Linked DNA regions of Homo sapiens: all the other regions are linked to region 1. The links are contacts of gene promoters, found by promoter capture Hi-C in human tissues and cell types (Jung and others, 2019). All regions are on one chromosome and are shown on one strand. Each heading gives the region's core, a stretch centred on a gene start or on the middle of the fragment in contact. The rest is flanking DNA. Distances are from core to core; before and after follow the strand shown. Region 1 holds the start of ROR1 (receptor tyrosine kinase like orphan receptor 1). Region 2 overlaps ROR1 (receptor tyrosine kinase like orphan receptor 1). Region 3 overlaps ROR1 (receptor tyrosine kinase like orphan receptor 1).

What was found. The method cuts DNA at HindIII sites, captures the fragments that hold promoters and counts their contacts. A contact is called where the count stands out against the background at its distance.
Region 2: a contact is called between a fragment that was not itself captured here and the fragment with the promoter of ROR1 in region 1, in 3 of the 25 tissues and cell types used here (aorta, heart right ventricle and mesenchymal stem cells).
Region 3: a contact is called between a fragment that was not itself captured here and the fragment with the promoter of ROR1 in region 1, in 5 of the 25 tissues and cell types used here (aorta, heart right ventricle, liver and 2 more).

Annotation. Positions count from the first base shown.
Region 1 is chr1:63,772,457-63,775,577 of GRCh38, reverse strand. It overlaps ROR1 (receptor tyrosine kinase like orphan receptor 1), which reads right to left and starts at 1,561. Exons shown (of 9, transcript NM_005012.4): 1 at 1,070-1,561. The coding sequence starts at 1,160. RefSeq lists an enhancer at 1-500 and silencers at 366-660, 1,445-1,494. The HindIII fragment of the contact is 10,974 bases long and covers 1-3,121 here.
Region 2 is chr1:64,056,255-64,059,375 of GRCh38, reverse strand. All of the region lies in intron 4 of ROR1 (receptor tyrosine kinase like orphan receptor 1), which reads right to left. Among named protein-coding and RNA genes, the nearest start is that of ROR1-AS1, 54 kb to the left of the region's middle. The HindIII fragment of the contact is 4,077 bases long and covers 1-3,121 here.
Region 3 is chr1:64,038,982-64,042,102 of GRCh38, reverse strand. All of the region lies in intron 2 of ROR1 (receptor tyrosine kinase like orphan receptor 1), which reads right to left. Among named protein-coding and RNA genes, the nearest start is that of ROR1-AS1, 72 kb to the left of the region's middle. The HindIII fragment of the contact is 6,256 bases long and covers 1-3,121 here.

The DNA of each region.
Region 1 (3,121 bases), core at 312-2,811:
ATGAAAGATGCATGATAAAAGAGCAGAGATCTATTTATCCGCTCAGGTTTAGGGCTGGGAGTGGGGGAGGGCAGAATCCAAAGGCTCCTCACCCCCTCAAGGGATGCATGTTAAAAGTGAGGCCCGAGACCCCGGAGACTTTAATCAACTTTCCCCCTCCAACCTCCAAAGAATGAATCGGTTGTCTCCACAGGCTCAGCCGGGCTCTTCCCTCTCATTGTGTACCGGCTCAGACGCAGCAAGGACCCCAGCTTCCCGCAGCGAACTAAGACGCTCCGGCTTGCGGTGAAGTCTTTCTCTAACTGTTGCGATTGTCTTTAGAGATTACCAAAATCAAATATGCATTAGATGGCTTTTCCCCCTCTTGTTTGTAACACGCACACACACACGCGCGCGCGCGCGCGTGCACACCCAAAGCACTTTGGAGCCGCAGGCCGCCTCTGACAGCACATTTTGCACAAAGTGGCAGCGGCTGCAGCGGCGCACAAGTTTTGGCCTCTATGATGACTCTCGGGAGGGCCGGAGGGCCGGGGGCGGTGGCGATGCGAGGCCGCCGGAGCCCCAGGAGGACAGGGCTTTTGTTTGCGTCGATCCGCGAGCCGCCTGGGCTCTGGCGAGCACCACTGAAAATCCAAACTCCCTCCTGGACCGCGCCTTCCGGGCCGGCTCGCAACTTGGGGGCAGGATAGACTTGCCTGAACACCGGCTGGGGCGCGCTAGAGGTCCAGGGAGACAAGGGGGGACGCCCTGCACAGAAGTGCCCCGATCACCCCCAGGACCCTCAAACCCCTCCACGCTTCCTGTCAGCGCTGACAATCGCTGCTGCGCACCGAGGAACGAGTCCCTGGGCGCGCCCCGGCCCGCCGCGGGGCTCCGGGGCAAACCCTGGCCTGGCGGGGCTCCGGGGCAAACCCTGGCCTGGCGGCGCCGGCGAGCCCCGTGGCGGGTGGCCGGACGCGCCCCGGAGCCAGCGCGGCGCTTCCTGCGTGTCCCGCGCCCGGCTGGACGGCGGAAGGGTGGCCACGGGTCAGGGGGTCTGGGCGGGCGGGGGCCGGCGGGCGCCTCTTACCTTGGGCAGCAGCCCCGCGTGCGGCCAGCAGCAGCGCGGCCAGCAGCGCCAGGAGCGGCGGGCGCGTCCCGCGGCGGCGCGGCCGGTGCATTCCTCCTCTCGCTGAGGCGGCGGCGGCGGCGGCTCCCAGGCCGCGCGCAGAACATCCACGGGCTCTTCCCGGGCTCCCGGCCGCCTCGTCCCGGCCGCTGGCGCTCGCAGGACGCCGGGGACGTCTGCAAAGCTCTTTGTCCCTCTAACCTGCTCCCTCGCCTCCGCCTGGCCGCCTCTGGATGCCGCGAGCGCGATCCCTTCCCAGCCCTCTGGCTGCAGCCTCGCCTGGGCCGGCGGGTCAGTCCCAGGCTGTCCGGGTCGCACCAGTGGGCGTGAGTCGCCCTGGGTCGGACTCCGAGAACAGCGCACCCTGCGCCCAGGGGCTGCCGTCCCGGGGCTCCCTCGGCGGCGGCGGTGGCGGCTGCTCCAGCTCTCCACGCTCCCTCTCTCGCTCAACTTGTCACTTTCCACCAACTCTCCAGCCCAGCGCCCCAGCCCCGACCAATGGGAGACGCGGCCCAGGCTGGCGACCCAGCGCCCTCTGCTGCAGCCTCTCAACGCCCGCACCCTCCCCGACTTCGCAGAAAGCGGTCGCGGCTCCCGCGTCTCGGGCACGCTCCCTCCCCTCCCCTCCCCCACACTCCTCAAACTCGCCACCGAACCGAGCGCCGGGGACCTTCGAGGCTACTTGACAGAAGGGGAAACCGAGGCTCAGAGAGACTTATCCGGGATCTCAAGCCAGTTCGTGGCTGGACGACAGTAGACCCAGGTTCTAGCAGCCTCAGCTGTGTCACTGTTAGCTGTGTGACTCTGGGTAATGGCACATTTATTGCTATCATACAATTTCCCTTTTGCTTTCTTCTTGGACCCAAGAGTTGAGAGAGTTCTTACACAAGTAATTTATACTTCGCCTTTTTGTCTTTAATTTGTAGTCTCACTGAATTCAATGTCATCTGTACTGCCTCCTGGCAAGATTTATTGAGGATTATCTGTGGTTATTTTTGCCAATGTCCCATGGTTTTTTGAAAGGTGTTTTTGTCTTCCGAATGTGAAGATAGAATACTGTATCGATTTATCTTCTTTGTATTCATTATTTTTTCAGGCCTTCTGAATCTTTGCATGTTTGTTTGTTTGTTTGTTTTTTGTCTAGCTGCTCTGCCATGAGCCAAGGGATCATTAAAGACCTCTACAATGAGTGTGTTTTTGTCCATTTCTCCTGGTTTAACTTTATGGATTTTGTAATTCATAAATACCCATAATGATTTGACTTTCCCTGTAGAGACTGCCTTTGATCATAAAAAGTGGTGAGCGCCTGCTGTTTTCAGGGCTGTGCTCTAGGCTCTGAAGATGCAAGGGTAATAGGACACCTGTCAGTCTTGCTCTGGAGGAACAGGAAGAAGCCCATAGTCTCTCAATAATCACGTGGCCACTTACTAAATACCTCCTGTTTGCCTTGTGTTTTATATGCATTTGCTCACAAATCCTCCATTGACACTAAAAAGAGTCATTAAAAGTATATACTTCTTAGCTGTTTTACATATATTATCCCCATATTACAGTTTTAGAAATTGAAACTCAAAGGGAAAGTAAATGACTTGCCCACAGTCTCACAGACATGGGGTAGCCAAGCCAGCACTCAGGCTGTTTCCACTGAGAGAGTTAAAGCCTGTAACCAGAGCCTGGCACATGATAAGCACTCACTCGGGAGTTGTTGCTGTTGCAGTAGCCTCTAAGAACCCAGCTTTAGGGTTTTAAAATGAACAGTCACTTCATGGAGGGCGAGGACTCTGTCTCAATCATCTAGGTATCTTGCTGGCCTCTAACAGTACCTGGAATGCAATAGGAGCTCAATTAATGAACAAAGGTTAGGTCACCATTTGGAAAATATTAATTTCTCATCATATTTGTTTTATAGGGGTGCATGGAGGAGGGACAAAATTTCATCCATACTCCTTGGCACCAGGAAAAGCAGATCCCTGAGAGCTGAGACATTAGAAGGGGGAAAAAATGCAGCCCAAA
Region 2 (3,121 bases), core at 240-2,739, 280 kb before region 1:
TTAATTCAGGAAATTCACCAAACAAACGGCAAAAACAACACACAGCAACATCAGAGGAGAGGCAATCTGATTTCCACAGTTGTCACAATACTCTATTTCAATATCCAGTTTTCAACGAAAGTTAGTTCTTTGCCAACAAAATTGGCAAATCTTTAGTTAGACTAGCTAGTCTGACAAAGGAAAAAAAAAGACACAAATTATTAAAATTAGGAATAAAAAAGGGACTATCATTAATGATGTTACAGAAATTAAAAGAATGATAAAGGAATAAAATAACTTAGATAATCTCAATGAAATGGAAAAATTTCTAGAAAGACATAAACTACCAAAACTGACTCAAGAAGAAACAGAAAATTTAAATAGACCTATAACAAGTAAGAAAGTTGAATTAGTAATTTTAAAACTTCCCATGATGAAAATTCAGGCCCAGATTACTTTTCTGGTGATTATACCAAACATTTAAATAAAAATCCTTTACAAACTCTTCTTAAAAAATGGAAGAAAAAGGAATACTTCCCAATATATTCTGAGGCCAATATTACCCTTATATCAGAACTAGACAAAGCTATCACAAGAAATGCAAAGCACAGACCAATATATTTTATAAACATGGACTCAAAAATCCTCAACAAAATACCAGCAAGCTGAATCCAGCAAAAGATAAGAAGAAATTATATACCATGGCCAAGTAGGAATTATTCTAATACAAGCTTGGTTTAACATGCAAAAATCAATTAATGTGATATATCACATTAATATAATAAAGGACAAAAAAAAACCCACCACGATCATCTAAATGGACACACAAAGAGCACTTGAGAAAATCCAATAGCTTTTCATAGTAAAAAACATAGAAGAAAATAGGAATAATAGGGAATTTTCTCAATCTAATAAGTGGCATCTATGGAAAAACGCAGCTAACATCATATTCAATGGTGAAAGACTGAAATCTTTTCACTAAAGATAAGGTAAAAAAAAAACAGGATGTCCACTCTCACCACTTCTATTCAACATTGTACTGAGGGTTCTAGCCAGGGCAATAAAGCAAGAAAAATAAGTAAATGGCACCCAAATTGAAAAGAAAAAAGTAAAACAATCTCTTTTTGCAGATGACACAAGCTTGTAGATAGAAAATCCTAAAGAATTCACAAAAAAACTGCTAGAGCTAAGAAGCAAGTTAGCAAGGGTATAGGATATAAGATCAATATACAAAAATTAATTGTATCTCTATGTAGTAGCAATGAATAAACTGAGATGATATTAAGAAAAAATTCCATTTCCAATAGCATGAAAGATAATCAAATACTTAAGAATAAACTTAAGAAAAGAGAGCAAGACTTGCACACCAAAATCTACAAAACATCATTTAGAGAAGTTAAATAAATGGAAAGACATCCCATGTTCATGGATTAGATGACTTAATACTGTTGAGACAGCAGTACTCCCCAAATTAATCTACAGATTTAATGCCATCCTTATCAATATTCCAGCTGACTTTTTGGTGGCATAAATTAATAAGCTGACCCTAAAATTCATATGGAAATGCAAAGCACTCAGAATAACAACAACAACAAAAGTCTTGAAAAAGAACAATATAGAAAGAGGTGATGACTAGTTTTACATATCAACTGGCAAGGTACAGTCCTGAGTTATTCAAACACTAGTCTAGGTGTTGCTGTGAAAGTACTTTATAAATTTTATTAACATCTACAATCAACTGACTGGTTGTAGGAGGTCATCCTCAATAGTTTGGGTGGGCCTGATCCAATCAGATGAAAGGCCTTAAGAGGTATCTCTGAGGAAGAAGAAATTCTACCTGTGGACTATGGCATGAGCAACTGCCCAAAAGTTCCCAGCCTGTGCCTCCTGGCTCCCTGCCCTAAGGATTTTAGCAAATTCTTTGTAATATATCTCTTTATATATGTATACATACACAATTTTACTGGTTTTGTTTCTCCAGTGGAATACTAATACAGAGTACTCATATTTCCTGATTTCAAAACTTACTACAAACCTATAGTAATCAAGACTATGTAGAACTGAATAGGGATAGACACATAGACACATGTTTAATTGGTTTAACAGAGTGCCAAGACAATTCAATGGGTAAAGAATGGTCTTTTCATCAAATGATATTGGAACAACAGGATATCCACATGCAAAAGAATGAACCTGGACTCCCACCTCACACACTGTATACAAAAATTAATTCAAGATGGACCAAAAACCTAAATGTAAGAGCTAAAACTGTAAATAAAAACTTTTAGGAAAAAAACAGAGGAGTAAATCTTTGTACGCTTGCATCAGGCGATGGTTTTCAAAATCACAACCAACCAAAGAATGGGTAATAAATTGAATGTCATCAAAATGAAAAACTTTTGTGTTTCAAAGAACACTATCAAGAAAATGAAAAGACAATCCATAGAATGAAAATATTTGCAAATCATATATCTAATAAGGGTATATACCCAAAATAAGTAACTCTTACACCTCAAGAATAAAAAGACAATTAATTCAATTTAAAAAATGGGTAAAAAGTTTGAACAAACATTTCCCCAAAGAAAACATAAATGGCCAATATGCACATGAAAAGATGCTCAACATCATGAGTCATTAGGAAAATGCAAATCAAAACCACAATGAGATACCATTTCACACTCACGAGGATGGCTATAATAATGTTTGTTTTTTTTTTTTTTGGAGATAGAGTCTTGCTCTGCTGGCCAGGCTGGACTGCAATGGCATGATCTCAGCTCATTGCAACCTCTGCCTCCTGGGTTCAAGTGATTCTCCTGCCTCAGCCTCTCGAGTAGCTGGGATTACAGATGCTCGCCACCACACCTGGCTAATTTTTTGTATTTTTAGTAGATACGGGGTTTCACCATGTTGGCCAGGCTGGTCTCAAACTCCAGATCTCAGGTGATCCACCCGCCTTGGCCTCCCAAAGTGCTGCAATTACAGGCATGAACCACTGCGCCCGGCTGGCTATAATAAATTTTAAATAAATAAATAAATAAATAATTTTTAAATAAGGAAAATAAGTGTTGGAGAGCATGTGGAGAAATTGGAACCCATATACTATCCTTCTGCAAATACAAAATGCTGCAGCCTCTTTGGAAAA
Region 3 (3,121 bases), core at 248-2,747, 270 kb before region 1:
TTCCTGTTAAACCCTGTAATTAACTTATTCCTCAAAAATCCTCAGGAGTATTCTCCACTACAATCCCTTGTTTACAAGAAGAAACCAATGCTGAGACATTAAGTGTGTTGCCTAAGGTCACATAACTGATAAAGAGTGAAACCGCACCTCCAACCCAACCCTTCCTCTTGCACTCCCCAGTATCCAAACCTCTGCCCCAGGTTAAGTACCGAGGTGGCACAATGAAGATAAACATTTTCTGGGTGAATGAACCTGCTGGAAACCAGGGGATATGATGGTTAAAAGTGAAAAGAAAAGAAGTGCTGTGCTGGGCTGGGTGCTGGCCGAACACATTTTCTTGAAAACACAAGGACTAATGCATCAAGCTGAGCTTGGGCTATTGACTACAGAGTAGTAAGAGTGGGTTTAAAGAGTATCCACTGGACCAAAGACAACAAATGGCCAATAATGTGCCTCCTTTTTGGGGAGAGAACACACACACATTAAGAATGGTTCTGCAAATATGCACTTAGAGCAAAACCCCCTATAAATCAGGGTTAATGGGGAAAGACAGCCACCTTTATAGTTCTTTCCTTAGGAAGCCCAGTTAGCATGTGGTGCCACTCAAAGGAGTTTAAGAAAACTTGCACTTTGCTACTTAGAGGCTTATTTTAATGAATAGGTCTTTTTTACAAATAGACAAATTGTATGTAAATGCACTCTTAAAAGCTCAGGGAAACTACTTTTTCCTTTTAAGAAAAGATCTCTACCAAATTAGAGTGGCTGGTCTCCAGCATTTAGATTGTTTTATGTCTCAGGTATAATTAATAAAGGTGGGAGAAGAAGGGAAAAACATATATTAGGCACTGATTCTATCAGGCATTTTACATGTATTATTGCATTTTGTCATCACCAGAACCCTGTATATATACATAGGATTTTCCAGCCCCATTTTAAGGAAGATACCAAGGTTTATAGAGGTCTTAGCATAGCTAGACTGTACACAGGTTGGACTGGAACTCAGTTCCATTGACACTCTTCTCCTGTCCCTACTGCCAATCTGCATTTTATAACATACTGTCATTAAGAACTTTTCCCACTATTAATTGACTTGAGACCATCCAGATAAAACCTCCTTCCCACACCAAAGGTGCTATGATTTTTACCAGTCTTTATTTTTACCCCAGGAGCAGGTTATTTAATGGGATCCTTAGTAACCACAAATTAGGTTACTCTAAGAGACCTTTTGCTGATTATAAGCTTTTGTGGATATATGGTCTGAATGTTTGTGGCCCCCTAAAATGTATATGTTGAATGCTCAGGGTGAAGAGGTGGGGCCTTGGGAAGTGATTAGGTCATGAGGATGGTACCTTCACGAATGGGATTAGTCCCCTTATAAAATAGACCCCAGGGACATCCCCTGCCTCTCCTACCATGTGAGGACACAATGAGAAGACAGCTGTCTGTGAACCAGGAAATGAGCCCTCAACAGGGAGAACCTGACCATGCTGGTGTCCTGATCTTGAACTTCCAGCCTCCAGAACTGTAAGAAATAAGTTTCTGTTGTTTTATAAGCCACCCAGTCTATGGTAGTTTATTATAGCAGCTGAACAGACATAGAAAGTGTATTTTTGTATCTATTTTACCTCAAATTTTCAAGTGTTTTTATTATGAGAAGGTATCATTTTGTTACTTTATATTTATCATATGTGCACTTTTCACTTAAATTTCTAAGTGGGAATACTTAGAATTTATGAGCAGAAACAAACTTAACCATCAGGGAAATGACTTGATTTTTATATAATATGACCAAAGTCTTTTAACTAGAATTTTGAATACAAAGTTTCTGGCTTGAGAATTGGTCCTTGAGTTTTGGTGAAATATTCCCAATCTTGTTTCTAACTTTCTCAGCCTCATCCATCCCAATTTTAAAATGCTAAATTTTTAAAAACTAAACCCCCATCTTTAGCTGAATGCTAGGATGATAAGTAAATCTATAGTCCTAACAACTCTTTAGGTTTAGGGTACATCTACATTCCAAGAAGTCACTTGAAGCTTTTCCCATCCCTGTAAAACCAAACCAAATAATAATAACAAAACCACCAGCTATTACTTTGCTTCACTATAACTTAGTAAGGGCCTAACTTAAAAACAACAACAAAAAAGCAAAGTTTCTGACCCCGGGGCTTAAGCTTTATAGGTCACATTGCAGCCTAAAGACTGCATTCTCCTTTGTGGTTGAATTATAAACCTTTGAAAAATGCTGACAGACCTTAACTATAGCAGGACAGGATGAGTGGGTCCACGTAATGAACTTTTACATGACTGGAGATAGAATCTAGAAAGCCAAGCCTGAAATACATTTCTGGTTTGGGCTTTGGGCCAACACAAACAGAACACATCATAAGTCATCTCTGTGATTTCAGTACCATGCACAGGAGATGCCTCAGCATCAACACGACACATGATCCTCACTGTGGAAGCTTTTGGCTGCTTCTATGTCATGCAAATGCAACAGTTGTGCTTTCAGCTCTGGTAGAGAGCCCTGTGCTAGGAAGAACTAGGCCACATTCAGGTCATTCAAAGACAAAGTCCGTGTGTATTTTCACTACCCTGGCCTGACTCTTAGGCAGTGGCTTGCCCAGTCATAATAAATTCTCAAGCATTTGATGGCTCTAAGTGGAGCCTAGGTGGCTTTCAAAATAAAAGTTTGTCATTCTGGCCCATGAATTTCTATTCCTCTGGGGATCCATAAAGTCATACAATCTCAGTATTCTAAAGTCACATCTTGGTTAAACAGGACCAGAATCCCTTTGTGTGCCAGTCAGCATTCCAACTCAGTTCCACCAAGGCTGACACTCCAGTTTCATGTTTTCCCAGAATGTAAACTTCAAGGAGCACAAAAGGGCACACAAGCCATTCTTTCTCCCTTTCTCCATTCATTATGCAAGATCTGTATTTCAAAATTTAAAAGAATCTGCTGACTTGACCACAACTCAAGGTCTCCTGTTAGCAGGGCAGTGCAATGGTGAAGGCCCTGTCACTTGAATGTTCTCTCTCATGAATGGGGCGGTTTTGCCTTGAAATTTTGAACCAGATTCCTCAACAATTAGAAATTATCTGCTCTACTGCTTTTCAAGAA